Linked DNA regions of Homo sapiens: all the other regions are linked to region 2. The links are contacts of gene promoters, found by promoter capture Hi-C in blood cells and fetal thymus (Javierre and others, 2016). All regions are on one chromosome and are shown on one strand. The core of a region is centred on a gene start or on the middle of the fragment in contact, and the rest is flanking DNA. Distances in the headings are between cores, read along the strand shown. Region 1 overlaps CD58 (CD58 molecule). Region 2 holds the start of TENT5C-DT (TENT5C divergent transcript). Region 3 has its middle 4.3 kb from the start of ATP1A1.

What was found. The method cuts DNA at HindIII sites, captures the fragments that hold promoters and counts their contacts. A CHiCAGO score of 5 or more calls a contact.
Region 1: a contact is called between a fragment that was not itself captured here and the fragment with the promoter of TENT5C-DT in region 2, in 1 of 17 cell types (naive CD8 T cells). The highest score is 5.4, in naive CD8 T cells.
Region 3: a contact is called between a fragment that was not itself captured here and the fragment with the promoter of TENT5C-DT in region 2, in 1 of 17 cell types (neutrophils). The highest score is 8.6, in neutrophils.

What each region holds. Positions count from the first base shown.
Region 1 is chr1:116,559,328-116,564,108 of GRCh38, reverse strand. All of the region lies in intron 1 of CD58 (CD58 molecule), which reads left to right. It overlaps LOC105378925 (a long non-coding RNA gene), which reads right to left. Exons shown (of 3, transcript XR_947739.2): 3 at 2,922-4,781. MIR548AC (microRNA 548ac) reads left to right here and starts at 3,998; the gene lies at 3,998-4,085. RefSeq lists enhancers at 1,442-1,591, 4,191-4,430. The HindIII fragment of the contact is 813 bases long and covers 2,297-3,109 here.
Region 2 is chr1:117,604,323-117,608,860 of GRCh38, reverse strand. It overlaps TENT5C-DT (TENT5C divergent transcript), which reads left to right and starts at 3,091. Exons shown (of 3, transcript NR_121626.1): 1 at 3,091-3,215; 2 at 3,925-4,072. It overlaps TENT5C (terminal nucleotidyltransferase 5C), which reads right to left and starts at 2,813. Exons shown (of 2, transcript NM_017709.4): 1 at 2,708-2,813. RefSeq lists a silencer at 2,748-3,087 and enhancers at 2,998-3,498, 3,499-3,999. The HindIII fragment of the contact is 6,964 bases long and covers 1,429-4,538 here.
Region 3 is chr1:116,366,776-116,371,020 of GRCh38, reverse strand. No RefSeq gene overlaps it. Among named protein-coding and RNA genes, the nearest start is that of ATP1A1, 4.3 kb to the left of the region's middle. The HindIII fragment of the contact is 3,007 bases long and covers 513-3,519 here.

The sequences.
Region 1 (4,781 bases), core at 1,454-3,953, 1.0 Mb after region 2:
TTCTAAGCAGCAAAGCATTCAAGAGGTGGCTTGGTTGCTGTTAAAAGCATTCAGTTTTATATGTTCACAAAGATGTGGTTTGGAATTGGAACTTATGTTTAAAAGGATAGCAGGGCATAAAAGTTCAAAAAATTTGCAGCCCAATGATGCAATAGAAAAGAAAAACCCCTTTTCTGAGGAAAAATTCAAGCCAGCTGCAGAAATTTGCATTAAGTAATGAGGAGCCAAATGTTAATCACGAAGACAATGGGGAAAATGTCTCCAGGGCATATCAGAAACCTTCATGGCAGCCCCTCCTATCACAGGCCTGGAGGCCTTGGAGGGAAAAATTGTTTCATGGGCTGGACCCAGGGCCCCCCTGCTCTTTGCAGCCTCCAAACATGGAGCCCTGCATGCCAGCTGTTTTAGCTCCAGCCATGGCTAAAAGGGGCCAACATACCACTCAGGCTGTTGCTTCAGAGGGTAAGCCTTGGTGGCTTACATGTGGTGTTGGGCCTGTGGATGCACAGAAGTCAAGAATTGAGGTTTGAGAACCTCTGCCTAGATTTCAGAGGATGTATGGAAATGCCTGGATGTCCAGGCAGAAGTTTGCTGCAGGAGTGGGACCCTCATGGAGAACCTCTGCTAGGGCAGTGTGGAAGGGAAATGTGGAGTTGGAGCCCCCACACAGAGTCCCCACTGGGGCACCGCCTAGTGGAGCTGTGAGAAGAGGGCCATCATCCACCAGACCCCGGAATGGTAGATCCACCGAGAGCTTGCACCGTGTACCTGGAAAAGCCACAGACACTTAATGCCAGCTCATGAAAGCAGCCAGGAGGATGGCTGTACCCTGCAAAGCCACAGGGGAAGAGCTGCCCAAGGTTGTGGGAGCCCATCTCTTGCGTCACCTGGATGTGAGGCATGGAGTCAAAGGAGATCATTTTGGAACTTTAAGGTTTAAGACTGCCCTATTGGATTTAGGACTTGCATGGGGCCTGTAGCCCTTTTGTTTTGGACAATTTCTCCCATTTGGAATGGATATATTTACTCAGCACCTGTACCCCCATTGTATCTAGGAAGTAACTAACTTGCCTTTGATTTTACAGGCTCATAGGTGGAAGGTACTTGCCTTATCTCCGATGAGACTTTGGATTTAGACTTTTGGATTAATGCTGGAATAAGTTAAGATTTTGAGGGACTGTTGGAAGGGCATTATTGTGTTTTGAAATGTGAGGACATGAGATTTGGGAGGGGCCGGGGTGGAATGATATGGTTTGGCTGTGTCCCCACCCAAATCTCACCTTGAATTGTAATAATCCCCGTGTGTCAAGGGCAGGGCCAGGTGGAGATAATTGAATCATGAGGGCAGTTTCCTCTATACTGTTCTTGTGATAGTGAATAAGTCTCACAAGATCTGATGGTTTCATAAAGGGGAGTTCCCCTGCACACGCTCTCTCTTGCCTGCCACCATTAAGACATGACTTTGCTTCTCCTTTGCCTTCTGCCATGATTGTGAGGTTTCCCTGGCCATGTGGAACTGTGAGTCCATTGAGCCTCTTTCCTTGATAAATTACCCAGTCTCATGTATGTCATTATTAGCAGTGCGAGAATGGACTAATACACCCCATCTCTACAAAAAGTTAGCCAGGTGTGGTGGTGCACGCCTGTAGTCCCAGCTACTCAGGAGGCTGAGATGAGCCTGGCAATTGCTTGAGTCTGGGAATTTGAGGCTGCAGTGAGCCATGATGACACAACTGCATTCCAGCCTGGGTAACAGAGCAAAAAAATAAAAAATAAAAAGGTAGGAACTATTTTATTATTAACAGAGTCTGTCTTATTCTGCTGTTGTTGACATTTTACAGATCCTTTATTGCCAACTATCTGCATAACTAGATTTTAAGTTCCTTGTATGCAGAAGTCATGTATTATTTTTTAAAATTTTCCTTATATTGATCTGTTTTTTTTTAATAGTAAAGATTGTTGAATCTGAACATTAGATGACAATGTATTTGTCCAGCATTTCTCCATTTGAAATTATCTCACATTATTATGTGAGACTTGTTCATGTGCTTTGCTGGAGTTGAGACTTAGACAGTCTGTGTTTTTTTATTTAGCAAAGATAATCCAAGTTAAAATAGTGTTGTGTGTTCCTATAGGAAAACTAGGCCCAGTGTTATAACAGAGTGTAAGTAATAATAGCCACTAGGAGGTAAGTACCTGCTCTGTGCCAGGAGCTATGCTTCAGATTTGAGATGTTTTTATTTAATTGTCACACTGATTTTATTACATAGGGAACATTTAATAGGAGAACAAAGCTTAGGTAGGTTCAGTAATGTGTCCAAGTTCACACAGCAAATAAGTGGCAGAGTGAACTTGAACTTTGATTCTCTCTGAATCAGAACCTATTCCTTTATATGCTCTGTTGTATCCCTAGCCTGAGATCCACTAAGCAACTTTTTGAAGATGAGTACTACTGATTTCTTATATCCAACATGTATACATTGTCCAATGAAATTCTGCTAAAACATGGGAAATATAGGTCAGCACAATTACCAGTCATGCAAAATTGTATTTAATATCATAATTTGTAATGGTGAGGGGTGCTTCTTTGGGACATAGAATTTACAATGGCAATTTATTGACATATTTATTATTAACATTATTATATTTACATTCTCTAGGTACCCACATTTCACTCCTAGACACTTTTGCATAATCTCAATAACATCATAACATCTATAAATATTAACACTAATCCTGTAACATCACCTAACTTTTACCCGTATTCAGATTTCCCCACTTGTCACAAGAGTGTCTTTTGTTAAAAAACCCGGATCTAATCAAGTTTCACTCATTGTATTCGTTGCTATGTTTTTTTGTTTTAATTTTGATGGGCATCTTTCAGAAGTTTTAAAATAGTCTTAGAACCTCTTTTTAAGAACCAGATTTGAATAATTTATTTTATTGACCTCCTTGTCACTCTAACATTTCTTTAGTAAATACAGGCTTTGAGGGTAGGTATTGGTTTCTCTGTTTAAAAGTAGAAACTTTGCATAAATCAGCCCTTATATGTGTAAGTTTTCTGCCTTTTGGTTTCTTCTCATGCTGTTTCTGCACAAGTGCCTAAGCTTTTTTGAAGCTTTACTTGAGGGGTGACCAGAAGGTTTTACTTAAGGACACAGACCCTTAAATTCTGCAATGACAAATCTCAACTTCCATCTCAGGGTTGTAAGTGAAACCAGGATGCAGCCGTTTCTCTTTTCTCAGATAAGTTCAGGTTTGAATATAAAGTGTGACTATAAGATACAGAGACTGTCCCTAGAAAAGGAGGGGAAAACATTTTAGCAGTTCCTCTTTGGAGATAACTTTCAGTGCCTGCCCATCAGCCTCCAAGGAAAATGCTTTTTGGTTACTTTATAGGTTCTAGTGAACTTTGCTTACTTTACAATGTTCCCCAAAATGTCTGTTGAGATTAGTGCCTGAATTTCCACTGGGCTGACCAGTCTGTAGTTTCTTGAACATTTTCTTCCTATGCCAGTTAAAAATTAGAAGAAAATTGAAGTTTAACATACACATTCAGAAAAAAATAAAAAATCAGATTAATAAGAAACTAATGAGGCTGTGCCATTGTAAACTACTTGCAATAGAGTTTCCCAACGATGAACTGAGTATCTAGAAAATAACAAGGATTCTCAAGGAATTTTAGTGAAATGATCAGTACTGTATTGAAATACCTTGAATCAGACTTTGGAGAATAGATTTAAAAACACTCACAGCCTTAACCGATCTAGTAAGAACCTTATTCCCTAAAGCATACTGTGGATCTCAGCTGTATCCTATCTAAGGTGAGAACAGTCAAAGACAAATGTGGCCTTTGAGAAAGGTGGGATGTGAGTGTCTTGAAACAACAGGCTAAAGAAGTGCTCTCAAATAGAAGTATAATATGGAACATGTGAAATTAATTTTAATAATATATTTTAGTTAACCTAATATATCCATAATATTTTCATTTCGACATGTATTAGGTTGGTGCAAAAGTTATTGTGGTTTTTGCTATTTTTTTTTAATGGCAAAAACCGGCAATTACTTTTGCACTAACCTAGTAGTTACTACAAAAAAATATTAACAAGAGATTTTATGTTCCACTTTTTAATACCAGGTCTTCAGATTCTGGTGTGTATTTGATACTCAGAACACATCTCCATTTGAACTAACCATATTTCAGGTTCTCACTAGCCACTTGTAGCTGGTAGCTACTTTGATGGATTGCATAGGTCTAAAGGGAAACATCTTGAGAAAGAAGAAATAGGTTAAGTGCAAGAACAAGAATTAAAAAGGAAACTATTTTAGCATCATATTAGAAGGAAAGTACAGAAAGAAGTTGATTTAGAGAACCAACATCTTAATTCTTGATGAACTTATCGAGGAGGCAGATTGACAGCTGAGAGCAAGGTCCGGGAACCTTGCTCTGGCCTTGGGGACCGAGGGTTTGTAACCGTTGGGAGACAGGTGGCTGCAGTTTCAGTATGAAGTAGATGAGGGCAGGGAAACTGGTGGTGGTGTGGCTGAAATCAGTAAATCTCTGTCTTAAGGAAATAAGAGAAGTCACTAACTGGGACCGGCTAAGGGTGGAATCGATCAGGAAAAAAGAGGAATGGCCCCAACCAAGGCATCTGATGTTCTGGCCAACAGTGCAGGCTCTGGGGCCGACTGCCTGTGTCTGGACACCAGCTCTGCCCCTTGCTAGCTGAGTGAATGCAGTCAGCTGACCCTCTCAGTCCATTTCTTCATCTGTAGCCTGG
Region 2 (4,538 bases), core at 1,842-4,341:
GAAACCAAGAAACCCCAAAACATAAGTTTAGCTTAACTCATGAAACTAGTTTTGGGCTTCCACGACTTCTCTCAGTAATGCAAAAAAAAAAAAAAAAGGTTCAACTCATCCACTGAGAGCCTTTGGGTTTCCATTTCTTTAGTAGGTAACTCCATGAACACAACATTGATCAGAGACAAAAGATGAAGACAAGGTCCTATGTACTTGAGCAGTAAAAACAACAAAAAAAGTTTTTTAAATGAAGTTTTTAAATTTTCTATCAAATGTGTCTGGTTAATGGTACTGTGAAAACAAGAGCACTACAGCCCACTTTTAAGTTATTTTTACTGCTGCACTGTTCCTTGGACTTTCAGAAATATGAGGAATTCTGTTCTCTGACCGGCAGCGCAAGATGTGCATGATCTGCCCTGGCCTTGAACACGGGGGAATGTGGGCTGAATGTGTGCACTATGGGGAGATACAGCTGAGGGGGGACGGGCCTCTGGAACTCGGGAGATTTCAGTGGCTACTTGTGCTCACGGTACAAGAGAAGAAACCAGGTAGAGATAGCCACAGGTGCACAACTAAGTCATGCTCACTCTGACAAGCAGGCTAAGAGCCAAATCCTTTCCTTCAGAATTACATGAATTTAATCCCTGGATACAAGGTAGGTATTGTGGAAAAAACAGCGTAAGAAATATGGCTGTTAATTCTATGTGCTCACTGAAGCTGCTTATGAAATTAGGGATCTTTGTTTTGGTAACAATTTAGAGGCCTCCTGGCAGAGTTTTTTTTTTTTTTTAAACTTTGTTATGGGAGCCCCCTACCCCCGCATAGCTACCTGAACAATTATATACAATATACCAAAATCTTCCTAAAAACTCTTTATTGAGAATATATGTACTCTAAAGCTATGGGTATACCTTAAGAGAAAAAGTTCATTATCTGAAATAAACTAAGCTTGACTCCAGAGATCATTTTCCATCTTCACAAACAAGAATGTCAAAGGACAGAACCCCTGCAGCCCAGCTCAGAGGTTTCCCTAAAAGCCCAGAGAAAAGTCAGCATTCTTTACTCCCCATCCCCCTCCCCCTTTTCCACTGCAGGGCCTAACGTGGCTGGTCTCACACCCTCAATAATACCCTTGGGGATTTAAGACAGTAAAATTCTGGGTAAGCTCTCCTACCACTCTTGCGGCTGCCCAACTTACTTCCTGGGCTCATTTCCTTGCCAATTTACTCACGTTGAAAGGTTGCTGTCGCCAACAACGGTCACCCTCTTTCCTGCACGCAGAGGGCAGCTGAGCCAGCCAGAAGTGTACTTTGGGAGGATCTAATCACCCTAACTTTATTTCCTGGGCTGGTTCAGTCTCCTAACCCACCTACAAAGTAACCTGAAGACCAAGTTGTCACAATACAAATAATTATGCACATAGTATTTATAAAAGCTTTCTTACTATAAGTGCATTTTAAGCACTTCATTTGTATGCACTTTATATCTCCGTAAGAAAGCAAAAATGTTAAAAAGGAAGCAGGCCCCTACTTAATTAAGCCAGGGAACTGGTTAGAGCCCTACAAAAGCCTACCTATGGACAAAAAAGGGCGAAGGGGAAGGGAGCTGACACTATCCCTCCCGCAGGGTCCAGCCCTAATAGTGGGTTCTCCAGAAGCTCGCCAGGCATTCATTTCTCCAGGGGAGCGCCCTTACTTGGAGGTAGCGCTGCTTGGTTTTCTCGCCCGCCAGCGTTGAGTTCAGGTGTGCAGGCTACCAACCTGTATTCTTCAGGTAAGTCACCCTCCTCTGACTCGCCTCCCACCCTGCTCCCTCCTGCCTCGCGACCAGTGCGAAGGGAGTCCCCGAACTGCGACACCTCCCGGGGCAGCCGCACCGGTATCCGTCCGAGTCGACCCACTTGCCGTGGCTTTTCACCTACGCAGTAAAGCAAGTTTCATTTTCAAAAGGAGAGGAAGCAGGTTTCACAGACACCGCATTCCCAAGAAGTTTCTGAGAGACGCGCAGCGCACAAGTCACTGGCTTGGATCCCTTTGCTGCTCATGGTGTCCACAGTCTGATGTGAGCGCATTAAATTTAAGGATCTCCGCCCTTCTCCTTAAAACTCAGGACTTGGCAATGAGCCTAGGAAGCGCCCCTCCCCTCCCCAACCAGATCCAAGCCCCGGACCGCTGCGTCTCCAGCTGCGCCTAGTGAAACCGCCGAATTCGAATTCACACTCGGCGGGCCGGCGAAGGTGTGCGCGCCCGCGGGAGCGCCGGGGCGAGCCCGAGGGACTGCAAGCCAGGAAGGGAGGCATGGGTGGCGGGGGGCGCCGTCTGATCCAGGTAGGAGCGGAGGCGCCGATCACACACTCTTCAGACGCCCTGCCCGCGCCTGGCCAGCGCGCAGCCTGCAGGACGCGCGGAGCAGGAACTCGCTGGAGTTTGCCAAGCCCCAGGTCTCTGGAAAGTTGTAGCTCCCTTTCGGAGCGTCTCTTCTGGCCCTTTGGGACGGGTGTGTCAGGGGCGGGGGTCCTCGAGGGAGCAGGAGGGGAAAGGAGCACCGGGTCTCGGCACCTGTCCGCAGCTCCCCTCGGGTCCGCCTGCCCCCTACCAGGCTGGGCAAAGACCTGAGCACCACTTAGTGGGGGCGGACCCCCACTAAGTGAGCTCGCGGCTCCCTGGGGCTGCTGCCGCATCGCCGCACCTTTAGAGGAGGGGGGTCGCGGACTCACCTGGGCAATAGAAGAGGAGGCGACAGAGGCAGGTCCTTGGCGTGGGCAGGCCCCAGCAGGAGCGGCGCGACCTCTACAGCCCCTAGGCAGCGGCACCGAGTGAGCCGTCCCGCCGCCGCCCCCTCCGTTCTTATACGGCGGGACCACGCCCCCGTCCCCGCCCCTGAGCCGCCCTCCCGGGGGAGCCAGGGGCGGGGCGTGGCGGAGCCAGTCCCCTCGGGACCCTTCCGCCCGGCCCTGACGGCAGGGGCGGGGCGAGGGCTGCCCTCTGATTGGCTCTTCGGGTGAATGGTTGCCAAGAGACGAGTAAATCCTCAGCGGCGGGAAGGGGCGGGGTGCTCAGGGAGGCAGCACTGCGCAAGCGCAATAGAGGGGGCTGCGTCGACACCCACTTAACTTCGGAGTTAGTGGGACACCTTTCTTTTTGCTTAGTACGCTTTTCTGCTATTCCTGCCGCATAACTCTCTCTTCCCCAGGCTTTTCCCATCTCCATCCTATTCTCTCGCAGGCAGGTTTTTCTTCCGCCTCTCTGGGGATTTTCGCGTTGGTTCTCCCTGCCCCCAGGAGTGAGGCGGGTAACGCCCACGCCTACCTCCGGTGTGTGTTTTTGAAGTCGGAAAAAACTTAATGGTTTCTGGGCCCTGGGCACCTTTCTGATTCCCCAAGCAAACTGGCTGGAGGCGAAGGCGTGGTCTTCGGGGAGAGAGCGCCGGCGGCTCTCTGGCCCCGGGGACCACCTGTGTGCAGTTAGTGGGACGAAGGGCCTCGGGGAGTCCATCGCCAATGTCGGCAGCCGCAGCCGCTTCGGCCCCATTCGGAATGCCACAGCACTTGGTCCAGTGTGTTATATAACATGCAGGCAGGGCTTGGACACCATCCATTCATAACATAGCGAGTGGTTTACAGCCCAGGTTCTGAATTCAGACTAATCTGAGTTGAGATCTCCATGCACCACTTAAACTTTCTGTAAGGCCTTAGGCAAGTAACTGAACCAACCCTCCAACAACCTGCGTCTCCTATCTGTAGGACAAGACTAACAATGGGACAGCTCTGTAGAATTATATAAGTATTAAGAAAATACGTGGGAAACAATTAGTGCATTGCCTAGTGCCTGTTAGAAAGTGTGTGGCAAATGCTGTATGTATCAGATAGTAGCCAATGTTGGACAATGTTATTTATCAATAGACATTATTGTACTTGTATTGATCGTTTACTAGGTGCTGGGGGAAAAGATTACTTCCCAGATGCAGTATTTACATCTCCTCCGCCCTACTCTTCCAACCCTGCCTGAAATAAGTGTGGTTCTCCTGTCTGTCAGACTATGAAGAGTTCTCAAATATGTCTTTCCCAGCGAGGGAGAGGAGAGTGAGTATCCAGGAACTTTAATGCGATAGGACATCAATATGAGTGTTTATAGGGAAAGCCAGTGATCCTATTGTTAGACGCGAAATCAAGACATATGATCTGATTTTTTGTTTTACTTTTTGTTTTTGAGGTATAACATTCAGTAAAGCGCACAAATCAAAAGTGTCCAGAATGATAATTTTTTACATATGCATACCCATGTAACTGCCATCCATATCAAGATGTGGAACCTTTCCAGCTCATTCATGCCCCTTCCCATTCAGTATCCGACAAGGATTACCACTATTTTAACCTCTATCACCATAGATTAGTTTTACCAATATTTGAACTTGCTATGGATGAAATACATAACACGTACAATTTTATGTCTGGCTTCTCTTGCCCAACAGTGCGTCTATGAGATTCATCCATATTGTTGTGTGTAACAATGGTCCATTCTTTTTCACTACTGTGTATTACTTCATTA
Region 3 (4,245 bases), core at 767-3,266, 1.2 Mb after region 2:
TGTTCCGGTGTGAAGAAAGGGCAAAAAATATAAGAAACATTATCTTAAATCTGTATTTTGCTTTTGATGCCACACAGTAATTTCAGATGCACAGTGCCCTTGAATTCTCACAAGTCTTTGAGGTAAAGAAAAAGGTAAGGCATGACCAAGTCTGAGGCGCAGAAGGAAATCTCAGATATGAGAGAGACACCTTGGAAAATGGGTAAGCAAAGGAGGAAAAGTCCTTTTTTTTTTTTTTTTTTAAGAAAAAGCCTTCTTTTCTTCCCTTGGAAGAGTGGCTTCTGAATGAAATGAAACCTTATAGATGAAACATCAAGCTCCCTCATTTTATGATGAAGAAACTGAGGCCCAGGGAGTAATTGGTATTGAATATTCCAAGAATAGTGGCAAGACTTTCAGGTAGCTTTTCTAACTCCAGTGCAGGGGACAAATTTGGATTCTAGAAGAGAGGGTGAAGAAAGCAAAGGCTCTCTATTCTGTCTGCTGCTTATCCTATCAACTCTTTTCAAGCTTCTAACTTGGGGCACAGTTAAACTGATTGGCCTGGAGACTCAGCATTTATAGACCTTAAGGCTGCCAAGTATGGATAGCTTCGAGGAGAATTTGATCACAACTGTGGATGGTTGCTCCAGTCATTGTGAATAGAGTCAGCAGATGTATGAAAAATATGATGCAAGTCAGTTTTTTGAGCCAAGAACGCTAGCACTTTGAGTATTTGCTGAATTGAATAAACACATCATTGCAATTAAAGGCTTTAAAATATGAGTTGGAGCCCACACCAACTTAGCATTTTCCATAGGACACAAAAATTTTGGGGATCTATGAGCTAGAGATCTGGAAGGACAGAATTTTCTTTGGCTTTGTGTGCTCCCGAGTTAGCATGGAAACAGTCATAAGCATGCATCTTTATCCTTTACCTATTTCCCACATTATCCAGAATTTTCCACGTTACCCAGAAAGCCACTCTTGCTGCTTTAAAGTCAACTGTCTTCATCATTCAAAGTTCCCCCTAGCCATTATCTGTGCCTCCATTGCAAATCTCTGTGCCTCCATTGCAAATCTATTTCCTTTTCTTCTGTTCAGCAGCAGACATATCACCTGTCTTTAAAAGCACAGTTCTGGGTGCATTGCTGACTATCAAAATCTGTCAGCAAATAATTCTGACTCCTATAACTTTTCCTCCCAGACTCTCCATTCTTACCTTTTTTTTGGTTTGTTTTTTTTGAGATGGAGTCTTACTCTTTTGTCCAGGCTGAAGTGCGGTGGTGTAATCTCGGCTCGCTACAACCTCTGCCTCTCGGGTTCAAGGAATTCTTGTACCTCAGCCTCCTGAGTAGCTTGGATTACAGGCACGCACCACCGTGCCAGGCTAATTTTTGTATTTTTAGTAGAGACAGGGTTTCACTATGTTGGCCAGGCTGTTCTCGAATTCCTGACATCAAGTGATCTGCCTGCCTCAGCCTCCCAAAGTGCTGGGATTACAGGTGTGAGCCACCACGCCGAGCCATTTCTTTCTTTCTTTTTTTTTTTCTTTGTTTTGAGACGGAGTCTCGCTCTATCGCCCCAGAATGGAGCGCAGCCGAGCCATTTCTTTCTTTCTTTTTTTTTTTCTTTGTTTTGAGACGGAGTCTCGCTCTATCGCCCCAGAATGGAGTGCAGTGGCGCGATCTCGGCTCACTGCAAACTCCGCCTCCTGGTTCAAGCGATTCTCCTGCCTCAGCTTCCTTAGTAGCTGGGACTACAGGCGCCTGCCACCACACCTGGCTAATTTTTTGTATTTTTAGTAGAGACTGGGTTTCACCGTGTTAGCCAGGATGGTCTCGATCTGCTGACCTCGTGACCTGCCCGCCTCTGCCTCCCAAAGTGCTGGGATTGCAGGTGTGAGCCACCGCGCCCGGCCCCCGAGCCATTTCTTAATCCTTTTGAAAGCTCCTTAGTATTCTTTTAAACATATTTTCTCCTGTTAGTGGTGGTTGAAGACTTCAGGTTGTGCCTCTGGGAAACTGGGAAATTTGAAAGAGTCTGCATTTACTTGGTAACTATTGTAGGTTATCACCAACCACAACAGAATCAAGTCCTTGGTGTTTTACTCAGCATCCTTTTAACCCAGCTGCCCTTTAAATAATTTGCTGTTATTAATAGCGGTCTTCGTAAATAAAGCAGTAATAAAGGATTCTTTAGTTGTTTCCTGTGTGTTTTATACCAGATCCTGAGCCAGGATTCTGCCTTCTCCTTTAGCACTCTCTGCCAATACAGTTCTACTCCCCTTACCCTAGTTCACAACACTATGTGATGTTACAATATCCTACATTTAAAAACTCACCAATTGTTTTCTGCAAATCAACAACTACCGAGGCATTGCAACAAAAAAAAAAAAAAAAAAAAAAGAAAATCAAATGGTAACAAAGAAGGGATCTGGACTGAAAAATATTCCACTGCCAGAGTCCCATCTTCATCCAACCAGCAGAGACACAGCTTCAGGCAGCCTTACAGCTCAGAAAGGGCAAGCCCAAAGCTGGGAAGAGGTGGCGGGAGGTAACTGGCATCTAACCCTTCCTGCTCTCCAGGGGGCACAACCACAAGCACTAAGGAAATAAGTGCCATCATCGTGGTGGATAGATTTGCTATTCTTGGCCTTAAACTCTTCCATGGAAAAACAATTGAGAGAGTTCTTTGGAAGTTGGTCCTACTGGGAATAATACTCTTCCATAGATGCCTTTGCATTAAAGCTGGGTTTCAGAGACTGTGCAGATTTTTGTTTCAGTAAAAAGCTACCTTAAGAGGAGAGAATACAAAACCATCAAAAAGTGGTTTGGTTCATTTATAAGAATGGAAGTTTTTGCAACAGCAGAAGTAACCAAAAAGTAGGTCAGGTGCAAAAATAGTAACCAGCTCAATTCATTTTTAACAGCTTATGTTTTACTCTGGAGGCTTCCATTTTGGCGATGGTGACCTCTACATGTGGACTCTTACAAATAAGCCCCTAAGAAGGGTTCCCCCTTTTTTCCCCCTCTTATAAAGAGCATACTCCAATCCTTAACTCTGGTAGTGTATAGTATTTAACAGAAGTAAGAACTAGTTCATGCAAAAAATCAGAATAAACATTATTGAATATCTACTCTGAGCCTAGCACAGTGCTTGTTGCTGTTGTATAAAGATAACTAAGACACATTCTCTACCCTCAAATAGCTCACCATCTGGCATAAAAAAAAGACATGCAAAGAGATATTAGTAACACAGTGAGAGGTGCTGCATATATGCAGGCCTTCATGGGGGCATGAAGGAGGAAGTGGCCAGCTCTGTCTGCAGAGTGGGAAAGGCTTCCCTGGCTGGGATTGTGAAAGATGGTTAGGAGTTCACGGAATGGCAGCATGTTAGGCAGGACCAGGAGGATGCAAGCAAAAGTAGCACATGGGTAAGGTCTTCAGGACAGAAACAAACTGAGTGTTGGAGGACTGGCCAGAAGATTAAAATGGCGAGAGCCTAGGTTGTGAGAGGAATGGCGGCAGGAAGTAAGCTTGGAGAGGTGAGCAGAGTCCAGATTGTGGAGGACTTGGATGCCATCAAAGGGCTTGGACTTTATCCTATGGGCCATAGGGAGACACTGTGGGGTTCTAAGCAGGGGCAGGGCATGATCAGATTTGTGCTTTGGAAAGATTTCTCCAGTAGATATGCCTTCATAGCCAGCACATTTATGAAAGCTTCTCTGATCACATTATTGAATTCAGAATCTCAAGATACCTATATCTCCTTGTATATTTTTGTCATAGTATGCTAATTTTATTTTCTTCCTTTTCTTGTGCACACACAGGCAGCATGCCTTAACTCCCATTACCATCCCTATTATCTACTACTTCTCTTGAACAGAAGCTTTTGAATTGCTGGATATGATGAAAAACTGGAATTAGGACATAATTTTAACAATTGGTCAACATACAACTCCCTAGCCCTCAGAAGATAGTTCAATTTGCGGGGATGGCTCAGGCATTTTATCTGATTTCCTAGTGTTTTTTGCTAAGGTGAATTCCAAATAGGCCAAGGACTTTGTTGGTTTCCAGTTCTCTCAGAGTCCAGTGCTTGATGCAACTCCACTGACTAAAGAAATGTTAAGCTGCCTGGTAAGCAATCTCACATTTGAAGACCGAAATTATAGAAGATAAAGAAAAGAAGGAAGAAACCAAGTTAATGAAAAATTTAGCTTCAATTGTCCAAATACTGAGGTGAGAGGGTCACTTGAGACCAATG